Linked DNA regions of Homo sapiens: region 1 is linked to region 2. Evidence: promoter capture Hi-C in 16 types of primary human blood cells and fetal thymus (Javierre and others, 2016). All regions are on one chromosome and are shown on one strand. The core of a region is centred on a gene start or on the middle of the fragment in contact, and the rest is flanking DNA. Distances in the headings are between cores, read along the strand shown.

What was found. The method cuts DNA at HindIII sites, captures the fragments that hold promoters and counts their contacts. A CHiCAGO score of 5 or more calls a contact.
Region 1: a fragment that was not itself captured here is called in contact with the fragment with the promoter of SMAD1-AS2 in region 2 in 1 of 17 cell types (endothelial precursors); the score reaches 7.5 in endothelial precursors.

The regions. Positions count from the first base shown.
Region 1 is chr4:145,282,001-145,288,640 of GRCh38, reverse strand. No RefSeq gene overlaps it. Among named protein-coding and RNA genes, the nearest start is that of LINC02266, 55 kb to the left of the region's middle. The HindIII fragment of the contact is 331 bases long and covers 3,436-3,766 here.
Region 2 is chr4:145,498,904-145,505,972 of GRCh38, reverse strand. SMAD1-AS2 (SMAD1 antisense RNA 2) reads left to right here and starts at 2,993. Exons shown (of 2, transcript NR_108077.1): 1 at 2,993-3,097. The region is part of intron 1 of SMAD1 (SMAD family member 1); the gene reads right to left. The HindIII fragment of the contact is 25,873 bases long and covers 1-7,069 here.

The sequences.
Region 1 (6,640 bases), core at 2,352-4,851, 220 kb after region 2:
GTTCCATGATCAGGTTTGTGCTTTAGAAAAGATCTCTCTGGCAGCAGTATACAGAATGGATTGGACTAGAACATGCAGAAAACAATAGCAGTCAGCTGTGTTACTCTAAGAGAGGGGAACTAGGGAGAAGGGAGAAAAGAGACACATTTAAGGAGTAGAATTGATAGTACTTGATGAGTTATCGATTTTGGGCATATGTTGGAATAGCTGGCACGCAAGGATGACACTAAAATTTATGATTTAGTTAACAGGTATATGTGTGTTATGGGGGGAGGGTCTTATAGGTCAGAAATTAGGGAATATGATAAAAATGGTTTGTTCTCTAGTATCAATATTAAAAGCCCACATTCATATGTTTAATAAAGTCACAGAATTCTGATCCTAAACATATTTCTGATATAATAATGTACTGAATTTTTTAAAATATGAAAAGCAAATGTATTTTAAAAACTAGATATTGATGGAGATGAATAATGAAACAAAAATATGTGGGATATAAAAGTCATAACACATGAATCAATAGTTCTCCATTCTCTTCATCTCACATTTTCCTAGAGAATCCCACTCCCTCCCACCACCTAAATTCCAGTCAATCATCCATAGAACCCTGTTTTCTTTTTTGTAGGAAATAAATAAGCAATACTTTGGAGCCGAAAGGAGCTTTAGAGATCATGAAATATGAATTCTGTAAGTTGGAACTACTATATAACAACATTAAAATATTTTAAGATAATAAATATTCAGAATGCCATTATGCTGAAAGACATAGGTGTAATGCAAGAACGTTAGTTATGTTTGGTAACTACTATAAGCAAGGAGATCTTGGACATGCAGTTGTGTGTATTAAATGAGGCAGTATTTGTAAATAACTAAGCATAGTTCTCAATGATTGGTAACTATAACAACAGAGACTATCAGCCAAAATCCATTTTCTACTTTGCTCTGGAAACAAGAGAGCCCAACTAAACTGCGTTTCCCAGCCTTCTTTGCAGTTAGTTAGGTGTAGCCATGAGACAATATTCATCAAAGGAACAGGTGCAGAAATAGGAGTGTTGCTTCCCAGCATGGACCCTAGGATATTGCACAACTCCCCCACACTGTGTCCACTTTCTTTGAGCTGAACATAGGCATGACTGCAACCCAGCAGATAAGGACAATGCTCTAGGGAATGACATGGGAACAAGACAGAAGGAGCCTGGGTCCCTGGGTGGCCACATGGAGCAGAGTTGCCTTCCTCCCTGCCCTGGACTGATACAGAGGAAAGCAAACACTTTTGCCCTTTAAGCCACTGTATTTTCAGGTGTCTCTTTTACAGAAGGATCACGTTTCACCAAAATAATACAGCTTCTTTCTTCTTTCTGCTCTTCTCCAACACGACTATGCTATTTTTGCAGTATTATCTTTCATGGGCATAAATACTTTAAATAGCTGCAATCACAGTATACATGTTATTTTGTACTCTGTTATTTTCATTTTCCATATCACAGCCATGTTCCAGGATTCAAAGTTATCTTCAGTTATTCATTTTAAAACAAAAAAATGGAATTGCTCAGAGAAGACTGGTACAATGAAAAAAGCTAGGGTTTGTTTTTGAGATTCTCCCTTTATGTAATGCCTGTTACATTCACAAGCATATGTAGTGATTAAAGAAGGTTGGAGTTAGGGATTGTTTGTCAAGCAGAAAAATTTTAAAGTACCAATTTGCCAATAGCTGGCTCTTTCAGTTGGATCACTAGAAAATCTGACTCCCTCTCAGTCAACAATTACTCTCTTCCTAAAACAGTCCAACTTCCTAAGTGGAAGTTGAGATCATCCTAAAAGTATCAAGAACTTTTCTTAAGAGCAGATACCTCATTGTGGTTCTTCCCTTTGGGAAGACAATGTGTGCTTTTGATTTTATGACACCTGAAGTATTTGTGATTTTGCTTCCTTGAGAAGCTTAGTGAAAAATTAGTTCAATTTAGCATCATTTCAAAATGGTGAAAGTTTTTAAAATATTCTAGATAATATGGCAAATTAAAGGAGAAAATGAAGTGCCAATGGGACTTAGTTGGCTCTTGCAAAGAAGGAAGTCAACTAAGTAAACCATTTTCAAATCAATTTAAAACCATTTATTAAGCAACAACAGTATGCAAAGCACTATCTTCCCTGTATGCAGGTCATAGCCATTGTCTTTTCAGTCTAATGGGGATGACAGACATAAAATGAATAAAAATTCATGATTGAATAAAATGAACTCTGAATATTTGTATAAGCAAAGCATATTTGATCCACCTTGGAGGGAGAAATTAATGTAATAAATTTTGAGGAAGAGAGAGGGAAATAAGAGGAGGAATGAAAGGGTCTAATTGCAGAGAATATAATCAATGTTTATCTTCCCCCCCAACCATTCCCATTTCTCAACCTCTGAAAGTCACCTTCCTCTAGAATATTTGAGAAAGAGGATGTTTGTCCCTCAGTTTGTTCCTGAATCACCCTCTTTGCAGCTGTTTCTATGAGTCACTTGTTCCTCTCCATTGCCTTCAGCTCTGCCCTGATCCTCTGTCCTGGTGCCACCTGGATGATCTGGGATTCCTTTCTCATGCTATGATGATGATCTCCATGGAAGGATACAGGATCATGCTTCTTTTTGTTGCTCTTCTCTTTAATTCCCCACAATACCACCAACATAGAACTTGTGCATGTCTAATAGACTTAATTAAAGGGTTGGTGAAAAATAGAGGGATTTATAAGACAAGGAGAAAAATTTAAAATTGCATGACAAATATGACAAATCTCACAGCCCAAGTGGGGAAAAAACTGGAAGTCCTTTACCTGTGCCTTCCTGTGGAAATATTCCAGTTCTTAACCTTGCTCCCTTGCTTAAAAGCCCAGCCTTCTCTTGCCCCTTTTAAAAATGCTTAGTTCTTCAGTTCTCCAAATGTAAATCCTTATTCCTACTGTATATATCCCACCCACAGTAGGAGGCTCCCTTCTTTAGTTTTGTTTTGCTTTTAATGAGCAGACTCAGGACAGCCACGGTGGGCTTTGCACCACAAGTCCAATCTCTCTTTTGAAATCTCCGTGACAGTCCAACTTAAAGCTATGCATCCTCATTATTCTTGCAGTTTTCACTGTAACTGTTGGACTAATTACATCCCATATGCCTTTTCCAGTAGAAACAATACTTTCCAAACATAGTATACTCTGATCTATATGAGAGAAGATAAACTGTTTTTAAATGTGAGGTTATCTGCCTAAATTCCCCTGCCCACAATGGAACTAGCACTTTACAAGATAATGCCAAGAAGTTTTGGTCTCTTTTTCCTACTTGCAAACAAAACAATTTCAAGAGGCCTACCTGCACTTCAGAAATAAAGCCCACCATAGTATCTTGCCAAAGGAACCATCTGCCCCAAGGACCGATGTTAGTCACATAGAGATGATGAAGAAGCTTTCTTCTTTGGGCCAGGTTGAATTCATGGGTAGTCTACCTCTTCTCAGTGATCTCCATAAGGGTAAGGGAGACAGTGGGAAAATGCCAATAGATGTGCCATACCAACTTGTATGGCTCCCTGGTGCACAGTGATCTTATACTCTTCTTGCGGTAATAGAATCTCCCCCACTGCCTTTACTCTTAGAAATGGACACATGACCAGCCAATCATGGTACTTCATATTCTTATCCATAGCAATTCGTCCAAGGGTTGGAAACATGATTTAAATCTGGCCAATCAGAGGCCTGCTCCAGGATTTTTTTTTAACCTAAACATTGGATAAAGGAAGCTTGTTTTCCTCTAGGGATGAAGAAAGCCCAGGACTGGGAAAATCTTGTTTTCTAGCATAAAGAAAAAGCTTCTGGAGTTTGAGACCAGCCTGGGCAACACAGCAGAACCTCATCTCCACTAAAAATTTTTTAAAAATTAGCCAAGTCTGGTGGTGTGCACCTGTAGTCCCAGCTACTCAGGAGGCTGAGGTGGGAGGATTGCTTGAGCCCGGGAGATCAAGGCTGCACTGAGCCATGATTGTGCCACTGCACTCCAGCATGGGCAACATAACAAAACCCAGTCTCAAAAAAAAAAAAAAAGGAAACTCCTCGTAGCAAAATAGAATACAACCAACAAGCATAGGGAAACAGAAACAAGATTCAGAAGAGTGTGCTGTTTAGAGTTTGAGTGCCTGGTTCCACTCATGAAGGTCTTCAGCATTCCTGTAGTTCCTGAGAACCATCCTTCAATTCTCTGAGCTATTCCAGTATTCTTTCAATTAAGCTCAAATTTTACTGAAACTGGATTAAGTTGAGTTTATCTTCTTGCAAACGAAGTAGTCCTGGGATTATACTCTATCTAGATCAAATTACTTTCCCTGAGAATGGGAATGAAAATAGGAAGTTACTCCTGCTGTAAACATAAGCAAATCCTATATATGCAATCAGGAAGTCCTTTCTGGCTGATGGCATTATTCTATATATAGCCAACTATGACCCTTAGGAAAACAACTTCTAACATGCTAGCATGATATCACAGATCCTTTATATCCTAGTCAACCAATTGTTAAATACGGCTCTGTGGGAGGCCCTGGCTGGTCCTGCCGGGCCTTGCCACTCCTAATTGCATATGTCACAGGCTTGCCTCCAGAAATAATTGCTATGCATCTATGCATGTGATGTCTAATAATCATTGGGTAATCTGTGATCAATGAAGCAAAATGGTGATATGACATACCAAGAATTGTACTTGGAATATGATCTTTATCCAAGTGATAAAACTTAGTAAAGGCTTTTTTTTCTTCCAACTTTATAAAAATTATGATAGAGCTTTAGGGTAGTGAGGTTGATGAGAAGTTTTATAAGCCTCTAATTGGGGCTTCTGTTGATCTGAGAGAACTAACCATGGCCATACAGATTGCCATTGCCACCAACCCAAGTCTGTCTCCCATGAAAAACCAGGGAGACTCAAGAAACCACATTCAACAAACCCTCTAGCCTAATATTTCTTGATGTTTTCCTACAAGTATTTTATTTTGGTTTCTACAGTATCAATACACAGTAACTTTTTTTTTTTCTGAATTGTTCTTAGTGGGAAAGCTTTTATTATTATTATTATTGGTTAAATGTATTTAGCTGTAATAGGACTATTCAGAATTTTTATTTTTTATTTTTATTTTTTTAAATTTTATTATTATTATACTTTAAGTTTTAGGGTACATGTGCACAATGTGCAGGTTAGTTACATATGTATACATGTGCCATGCTGGTGTGCTGCACCCATTAACTCGTCATTTAGCATTAGGTATATTTGTGTATTGACTCAGAACCTCTGACCCAGTCCTGTGAAAAACCTCTTCAGGACTGTAGAAATGAAGAAATATTGGGAAATTCACAATCCAGTGAAGTCTTTACCAATGTCTAGACCAGAGATAACTGGGTAACTTCTGGATATTCAGCCCAAGGCCCTAGTTGTTACCAAAAGGTAAGAAAACTTTTTTTTTTTTTTGAGACGGACTCTTGCACTGTTGCCCAGGCTTGAGTGCAGTGACACGATCTCAGCTCACCACAACCTCTGCCTCCTGGGTTCAAGTGATTCTCCTGCCTCAGCCTCCTGAGTAGCTGGGACTACAGGCACACGCCACCACGCCTGGCTAATTTTTGTATTTTTTAGTAGAGACGAGGTTTCACCATGTTGCTCAGGCTAGTCTTGAACTCCTGACCTTGTGATCCGCCTGCCTCGGCCTCCCAAAGTGCTGGGATTACAGTTGTAAGCCACCACACCCAGCCAAGAAGTAAGAAATCTTAGTGTCTACATTTTCTATCTTAACTACAATCATATGCTTCGAAAGCAACCTGGTAAATACAAGATAATCCATTCAATTCCAAATATTCACTAACAGATAACCCAGATGTCAGAAGAGTATCCTTGCCTCTTAAGGTGGCTCAAACTCCCATTTCATATTTCCTTCAGTGAAAATCCAATGTGCGTCCCCAGAATATCTGGGAATTCCCAGGCTACTTTCACTCTCGTTATTTCTGGCTCCGAGTGCTGCTTCCACTGATGAGTTTAATTGACAGATTATCTTGCCATGTGGCATGTGCTGTCCCTATTTTGTACCACATTCACCCAGACATGGAACTCAGTCTCTCAATTCCCGCAGGACACAAGCTCACACATGAACAGCATCCACACAAGGCATTTGTGTAAATAGCAGAATCCACCAAAGATTTGGGATGGTGAAGGTGGGTTTGCATCACAGAAATGAAAAGATCCTAAAACTGAACATTGCATAATCTACATCTGAAAAGATTTTAAGGTATATCATCATATTTCTTCACCAGTCACTCTCCCTCCTCTCAGTTTTTCCCATCTCCATATATTTATTGTAGAGACGATTAGCTGTGACTGTTCTTTGTCCCCAGCTATCCCATGTCCTCAGGAGGCATCTTCCATGGCTCATAGTTTATGGAGTATTTCACTAGCACAGATTCTGGTCCCAGCTGTTAAGAATCTCCCTCCTCCCTGCCAGAGTACATGGAATGAATTTAATCCTGAAGCTGGAATATTCCAAAACACACCAGCTTTTTCTTGCATAAGTTGCATGGGTTATTACTCTGGAACAATAAAAGTTCTCTGTGTACTTCACATCTCTTCTATCTGATGTACACTGTA
Region 2 (7,069 bases), core at 1,744-4,243:
ACTTGGGAGGCTGAGGCAAGAGAATCACTTGAACAGGGAGGTGGAGGTTGCAGTAAGCCAAGATTGTGCCATTGCACTCCAGCCTGGGTGACAGATTGAGACTCCGCCTCAAAAAAAAAAAAATTGTTTGACCTTTTTTTTCCTTTTTGGAAACAAATATTTCTAAGTAACAAAACCACCTAAGTGCGTATTTCCAGACTTACATCGCCAGATATATTCTTAAACAGATAGACTGGTCTTGTGAATACACAGAAAAAGTAAGACTTGAGCTTCCAGAGTAGACCTATGGTGGGCTTCAGAGTGATTATAAGCAAACTGCATGAATTTTGTAGTTCAGCATTTTTTTTTTTTTTTTTGACAGAGTCTTGCTCTGTCGCCCAGGCTGCAGTGCAGTGGCGCGATCTCGGCTCACTGCAGCCTCCACCTCCTGGGTTCACACCATTCTCCTGCCTCAGCCTCCGGAGCAGCTAGGACTACAGGTGCCCACCACCACGCCCAGCTAATTTTTTATATTATTTTCCAGTATTTTTAATATATGAAACTATTTCACAATACACCTCATTAGATGCCATGGAGATGCAAGATATCTCAGAGACATGTTGTAGAAAGTGATCAATATTAACTGGCAATATTAATTAGTATTACAGAAATGTATGTGTCATCTATCCTAACATCCAATTTTGGATAGGATTCAAGGCCTGGTGAGATCAACTCTTGCCTTGTTTGAGATGCTTAAATTAAAACATCAAAAAAGGTCAAAGGGGAACATGCCAGGGGACTTGTAATGTAATTCTCATTACTATAAAACAAACTACTTTTTTCTAACCTGCTCCATTTCACTTAGGTACTCAAGTCAACTGTATAGTCCAAACAAAGATGGAATTGTCCAAATAGATCATGATTTCAAAGGATAATAAAGACACCTGAAAAATTCCTGACACTTATAGAAACCACAGACTCACAGAAGATTATACACTAAAGACGTAGGGTTAAAAATGCATAAAAACACAAAGGTTGGAAAAACCATATTATTTCAGCAATTTAAGGCCAATAAATATTTTAAAACAATAAAGAGCAATCCATCATTGCTTGCATCTTTCAAGCCATCTTGTAAGCAAAGAATTGCAATGAGATTTATTGGTAAAATATGAAAAATTCACAAAATGGAAAGGGGATCATAATCATTTGCCCTAAATAAAATCAGGCTGAATTAATCAGAAGTCCAGAAGAACTGGGAACTTACAAACTTTTGATAAAGCTGAAATAACTATTACTTAAATGTGGAACAGCAGACAACCCACATGAGACAATGGCCCAGCAAGAGGGCTGAGGCAGAAACTGCCATCCGCTCACATTTCCAAACAGAGAAATAGTACCCCTAAAAAACAGTACCCCTAAAAATGAAGACAGGTGGAGACAGAACTCTAGAACAAGTAGAACACAACGATAAGTAGCAGACAGTAGGAATTGTAAATGGTTCCTAACAAAAAGCATGAAAGATTATTGTACAGCTCCTTAAGGAAAATGATAAATATCTACCCTTAAGGTTAAGGCAGACAGGCAAAAGACAAGTTAAAATTTGCTATACAAGTCCAATGCCATTACAATGAATATAAAAACAGAAATGGATCTAGTTATTTCAGTTCCAGAAAATACCCTAAAGTAGCAATGTTCTTTGATCTGGTTCAACAAATAATGTTCAAATGCTTCTTTAACCCAGTTACTCCAGTTAGGAGCTAACCAGGTTTTCAGATACAGTAAAGTCCTTACGGGTTCTTGGAAACTGTGGCTCTAAGTGAAACGATGTAAAACAAAATTAATTTTAGCATCAGCTAATTTATATAAACAAGAGTTAAGTTCCTTCAGGACATTTCTGGTCACAAAAACATTACCAAACTTCTGAGACCCAAAACACTTCTAAAATTAACACTGAAATAAATGTGAGCCATATATACATTTAAGAAAGATGAACAGAAACAAGATAATTATTTACCCAATTATTCCAATTCAGGGTCGCAGTGGCCCGAGCCGATCCCAGCAGCTTAGGGCACAAGGTGGGAACCACCCCTGGACAGGACACCATTTCATGGCAGGGCGCACTCACACACACACCTACATGCACTGCAATGGGGACAATGTAGACATACTAATTCACCTAACGTGCACACCTTTGGGATATGGGAGGAAACTAGAGTAGCCAGAGAAAACCCAAGCAGACATGGGGAGAATGTGCAAACTCCACACAGACAGTGGCCTAGGCTGGGAATGTTTTTTCTCATCAACGTTATAAGGAAATGGCATTGAATGAAATGAGGTTGTCTGAGGACCTGCTGTATTTGTATTGGAGGAGGAAACAGGTGAAGTGCCTGCATTCCTTTTTCCTGTTTTAAAACAGCAGTTAGCCCTCAACTTTCAACATTTGTCTCAATCTCAAATGAGTCAAATTTAGCTAAATAAAACTCACCACTAAGCAAAATAAGGGAGGAAAAAACCTCTAGAACAGAAAGAAAAATGAAAATGGATAAAACCTTGCTCTTTACTGATGCTAACGTACTTCATAAAGTACAGCGCTTAACTTCATTGCTAAAAAGGCTATAATGAACTCTATTTCGCTTTAGTCCTTAGGGGAAAAATGTATTTAAACCAAATTCCTACACAAGAAAGCCATACGGAGACCCACAGAGAACACAGAACTCTGCTGCTCTCAGTTCACAGCAGCAGGAGAGTCCTACCATCACAAACACCACAAGTAAAGTTCCATCTTACTGAGCCTCTTACTATTCAGCCTTGATCTGGCTACTTCCAAACATGGGACTGATGATGCAGAATAGCTAGTTTGACATTTTTCCCACTGAAAATTTATTTTTGCCGGAGACTGATTTTCTAAATCTGGAGAAATTGGGGGTTGGAGATAGGAGAGAGGTTCAGTTCGTGAAATTCTATTTATAGTGATGCAATAATGCAGGTACTATTGCCTTTAAAGCGCAGACACTGTGCGTTTAAAGCGCAGACACTGACAGCAAGTCTTCCAGTCTCTCCAGTATAACTTAAGTGACATGCCAGCAAGAGATGCAATTTGGTCCCTCAACAGTGTTAAGTGAGTAGAAATCTTAGGAATCAAAAAGAAAAGGAATACCATGTAGACTGAATTCCAGCTTACTACTTACCACTTGTAAGTTCACTGAAGCTGTGAAATTTCAGCCAAACAATTTCAAAAGTAGCATCTCCTTGATGAAAAGGAAGCAAGGAACTTATGGATGTCAGAATGACAAGAGTCTCTAAGGATATAACTGTAGTTTATTTATTTTAGGTGTGCCAAGTGTGCTATTAACGTATCTTCATTATATCAGAAAATTCTTTAAAAAGAGTTCTTTCTGGTTCTGTTCTGCATACACAAATCCTTCCATCCTGACAAATCTAGGCTGCTAATAGAGTACCTGGTTAATTTTTCTTAATCACAGAGATTCCCTATAAAATAGCAGCTGTCACATCTGTTTTGTCTGATTAGATGATTACTTGAATAGTTAAGGCAATTGAAAGTTTTCTTATTGTCCCCAACTTCAACAAACAAAGTTGGCTTTTCTATATCTTCTTGCCATTTCCTCTAAAAGTTGTACAACATTCCTTAATCCCATTGAACCCCCATTCCCAAATTCATGCTTGTAATGGCATACTGTCCTTCAGGACACGGTAGCCTTTCAAGATGTCCAGCTCCCCATAAGCTCATCCTGATAAAGGCCATTCACATTCATGTCAACTCAAACACTGTAAAGACTCCTGGCCTACAAATGCTCACTCCTCAAACACAGGAAAGATTGAAGACCACAGACATTTTAAGATTTAATTTTATTGACTATCCCAGGAGAAAGTCTATGGTAGTTGTCTCAGAAAAAACTATTCTCTTTGAGTCAGTTATCCTAAAATAGCAATTTTAGACTACAAAGAATGCTAAATGTGGTAGATTTCCGTAAGTGGCTAGTTATGAATGATTCGTCAGTAGCTAATAAACGAAATTGTTTGAGTTACCAACTTATACAAGCATTATACTGGTTGTTTTTACAAACATTATTACATTGACTCCTCACACCAATGCTTCAAGGTAGAAATCATTATCTCAATTTTAGTAATAAACTTGAGGCTCAGAGGTTAAAGTAACTTTCTCCAGACCATATTCTGGTAAGTAGTATATCTATATTTTAAACCAGTACTGACTAATACTGAAGTCCCTCAGTCAAGTTTAAAAAAAAAAAAGGTAATCCAAATATCAAATTCACAGATGAAAATGGAATCAACTACAGGAGGAAAAAACTATCCCTTTAAAAAAAAAAAAAGAAACAAAAATCCTGCTGTATTTCATGTTTTGGAACATATTTCTCTCGCTCCACTGATCTCACAGGTGCTGTTTATGACAACAAACATGCACATCTGTAGGGGTGAACTGACAGACACAAAGCAGGACGGCCTGAACTCTCTTCCTATATTTAGATCCTTCAGCTCAGCTCTTAATTGCATAATTTAATCAGGACCCTCTAGAAGGGAAACACATCCATATTCATCACAGGCATCAAAGGAAACATCTTTACAAGTTATATCCTTTTACAAACCAACATATGGTCTCACGCCACTTTCCCAATTGTTGAACTCCTCCTCTGGGAAGAGCATGGAATTTTATTTCTTTTTATCACTTGAAAAAATCACTTCCCTCCTAATTCAGTAAAACTGGGTGGAGGCCACTTCCTCCACAGGTGAGAGAAATAAAACTTGTTGATCTGTCATTGTCAGGAATTTTAAAGTTAACCATTTATTTTACATATTTTGAAAATGGAAACAAAAGGCAGACAAAACCCAGAATGAGAAATTGGGGCACATTCTCCATGCTTTCAAATAAAACCTCTACCTACTTTTTTGTCATTTTAAGATGGTTTCTAAATTAGAAAACAAGTGTCCTTAACTTGAATAGGTTTGAACTGCAGCTGTCCACTTAGTAGCTGTACTTTGAAGAAAACAACTCTGAGCCTCAATTTGCTTTTCCACAAAATTGTGATACCATCACCCAATCCACTGGGTTAGGCAGATTAAATATAAACATGAAAGGCTTACTTCAAAATTATAACATGCTGAAAAACAAAGTGATTAACAAAGCAGGTTCACAAATAAGGCTAATTTTAATATTTTGCATATCCAAAAAAATGAGGTTTACAGTCTAGTTTTTGTCTGTTTAATGAAGTTCTAACTTCATACAAAAAGAGAAAAACTAGTAACCACTACAGTTATTCAATTCACTCAACAAACAGCTATCACATGCCAGGCACTATTCTAAGCACTAGAAACGCAGCACTGAAAGAGACACAAAAAGTTTTTCAAAGTCTGTTTCTGTGCCTTGGTGGGGCCTACATTCTGGTGGTCAGGGAAAGCCTCGTCGTGAATGTGGTATCTGAACAGCCCCCTGAAAGGAATTATCTGGGGAAGGGCATTCCAAGCAGAGAGAAGGGCAATTGCAAAAGCCATTTGAGCCATTTGGCAAGAATGATCCTGAGATGTTCAAGGAATGGCAAGGAGTCCTCACTGAGGCTGGAATGGAGTGAGGGGAGAGAAATGAGAGATGAGGCCAGAGAGGTCACAGGGGAAGGTATGTGCGGGACCCACAGAGACTTCAGAGCTTTTGACCCAAATTGAGATGGAAACACTGGGAGATCTGAGCAGAGGAGAGCCATCATCCAACTTAGAGTTTAATAGAATTACTGTGGCTTGCTGGGTTGAGAACATACTGAAGGACGCAGGGATCGAAGTAGGGAGTGGTGGGTAGGGAGACCAGTTAGGAAGCTATGGCAATTGTTAAGGTACAAGATGATAAAGATTTCAACCAGCGTGGCAGAAGTCGTCAGATTCTGGATATATTCTCAAAGTACAGACATGAACAAATAATACTTTACTGCTTATATAAAGAAAATAATTAACTGTAAGGTTGGAGAATTGTTTAATTTTTAGAAGTATGAAAACCCGTATTATGGGAACTGTAAGACTGAGCGAGATTTTTTTCTTCTTTTTTTATGGAATCTTTCTACCCAGAGATTGAATATCTGAGGTAGGACCAAAGACAAGGCCACTGGAGGAGAAGTAGTCCAAGAATTATGGACTAAATGTCCATAATTCCTGTACAGGAATACAGGTTGAGTATCCCTTATCTGAAATGCTTGGGACCAGATGGTGTTTCAGATTCCAGGTATTTTTGGATGTTGGAATATTCTGAATATATAAAATGAGATATCTTGGGGATGGGACCCAAGTCTAAACATAAAATTAATGTATGTTTCATCTACACCTTATGCACATAGGCTGAAATTTTTCTTTTTTTCTTGAGACATGGTCTTGCTCTGTTGCCCACGCTGGAGTGCAGTGGCATGGCTCACTGCAGCCTAGACCTCCCAGGTTCAAGTGATCCTCCTACCTCAGCCTCCTGAATAGCTGGGACTACGGGCAAGTGCCATCTCGCCTGGCTAATTTTTGGATTTTTATTAGTGACAGGGTTTTGCCACATTGCCCAAGCTGGTCTCAAACTTCTGGGCTAAGTGATCCACCGCTTCAGCCTCCCAAAGGGTTGGGATTACTGGCATGAACCACCATGCCTGGCCAATCTTATAAAATAATTTTAATAATTTTGTGCACAAAAAAGTTTTGACTGTGACCTGTCAGATAAAGTTAGGTGCAGAATTTTCCACTTGTGGTGCCATATCAGTCCTCAAAAAGTTTTGGATCTTGGAGCATTTTGAATTTTCAGATTAGGGTCGCTCAACCTATAGTATAAAGGGAATAACAACCAGGAGTTAAATCTTGTAGGAATTAGAGTGAACGATATGGGCAATGGGGCAGAAAATGACTAACAAGGAAGAGTAATGAGTGGTATAATTTTACATGATAGTCGAAGTTGGGTGTTTTTTATAGAGGATGGTAGAAGAATGGTCTGAAGGTGGCAATAAGAGGTAAAAGGTTTATGGGAAAAACCAGCCACGGCTTGAGAGAGCCACAGGGGAAACAGCTCCCTCAGATGAACACACACAAAGATCTATGT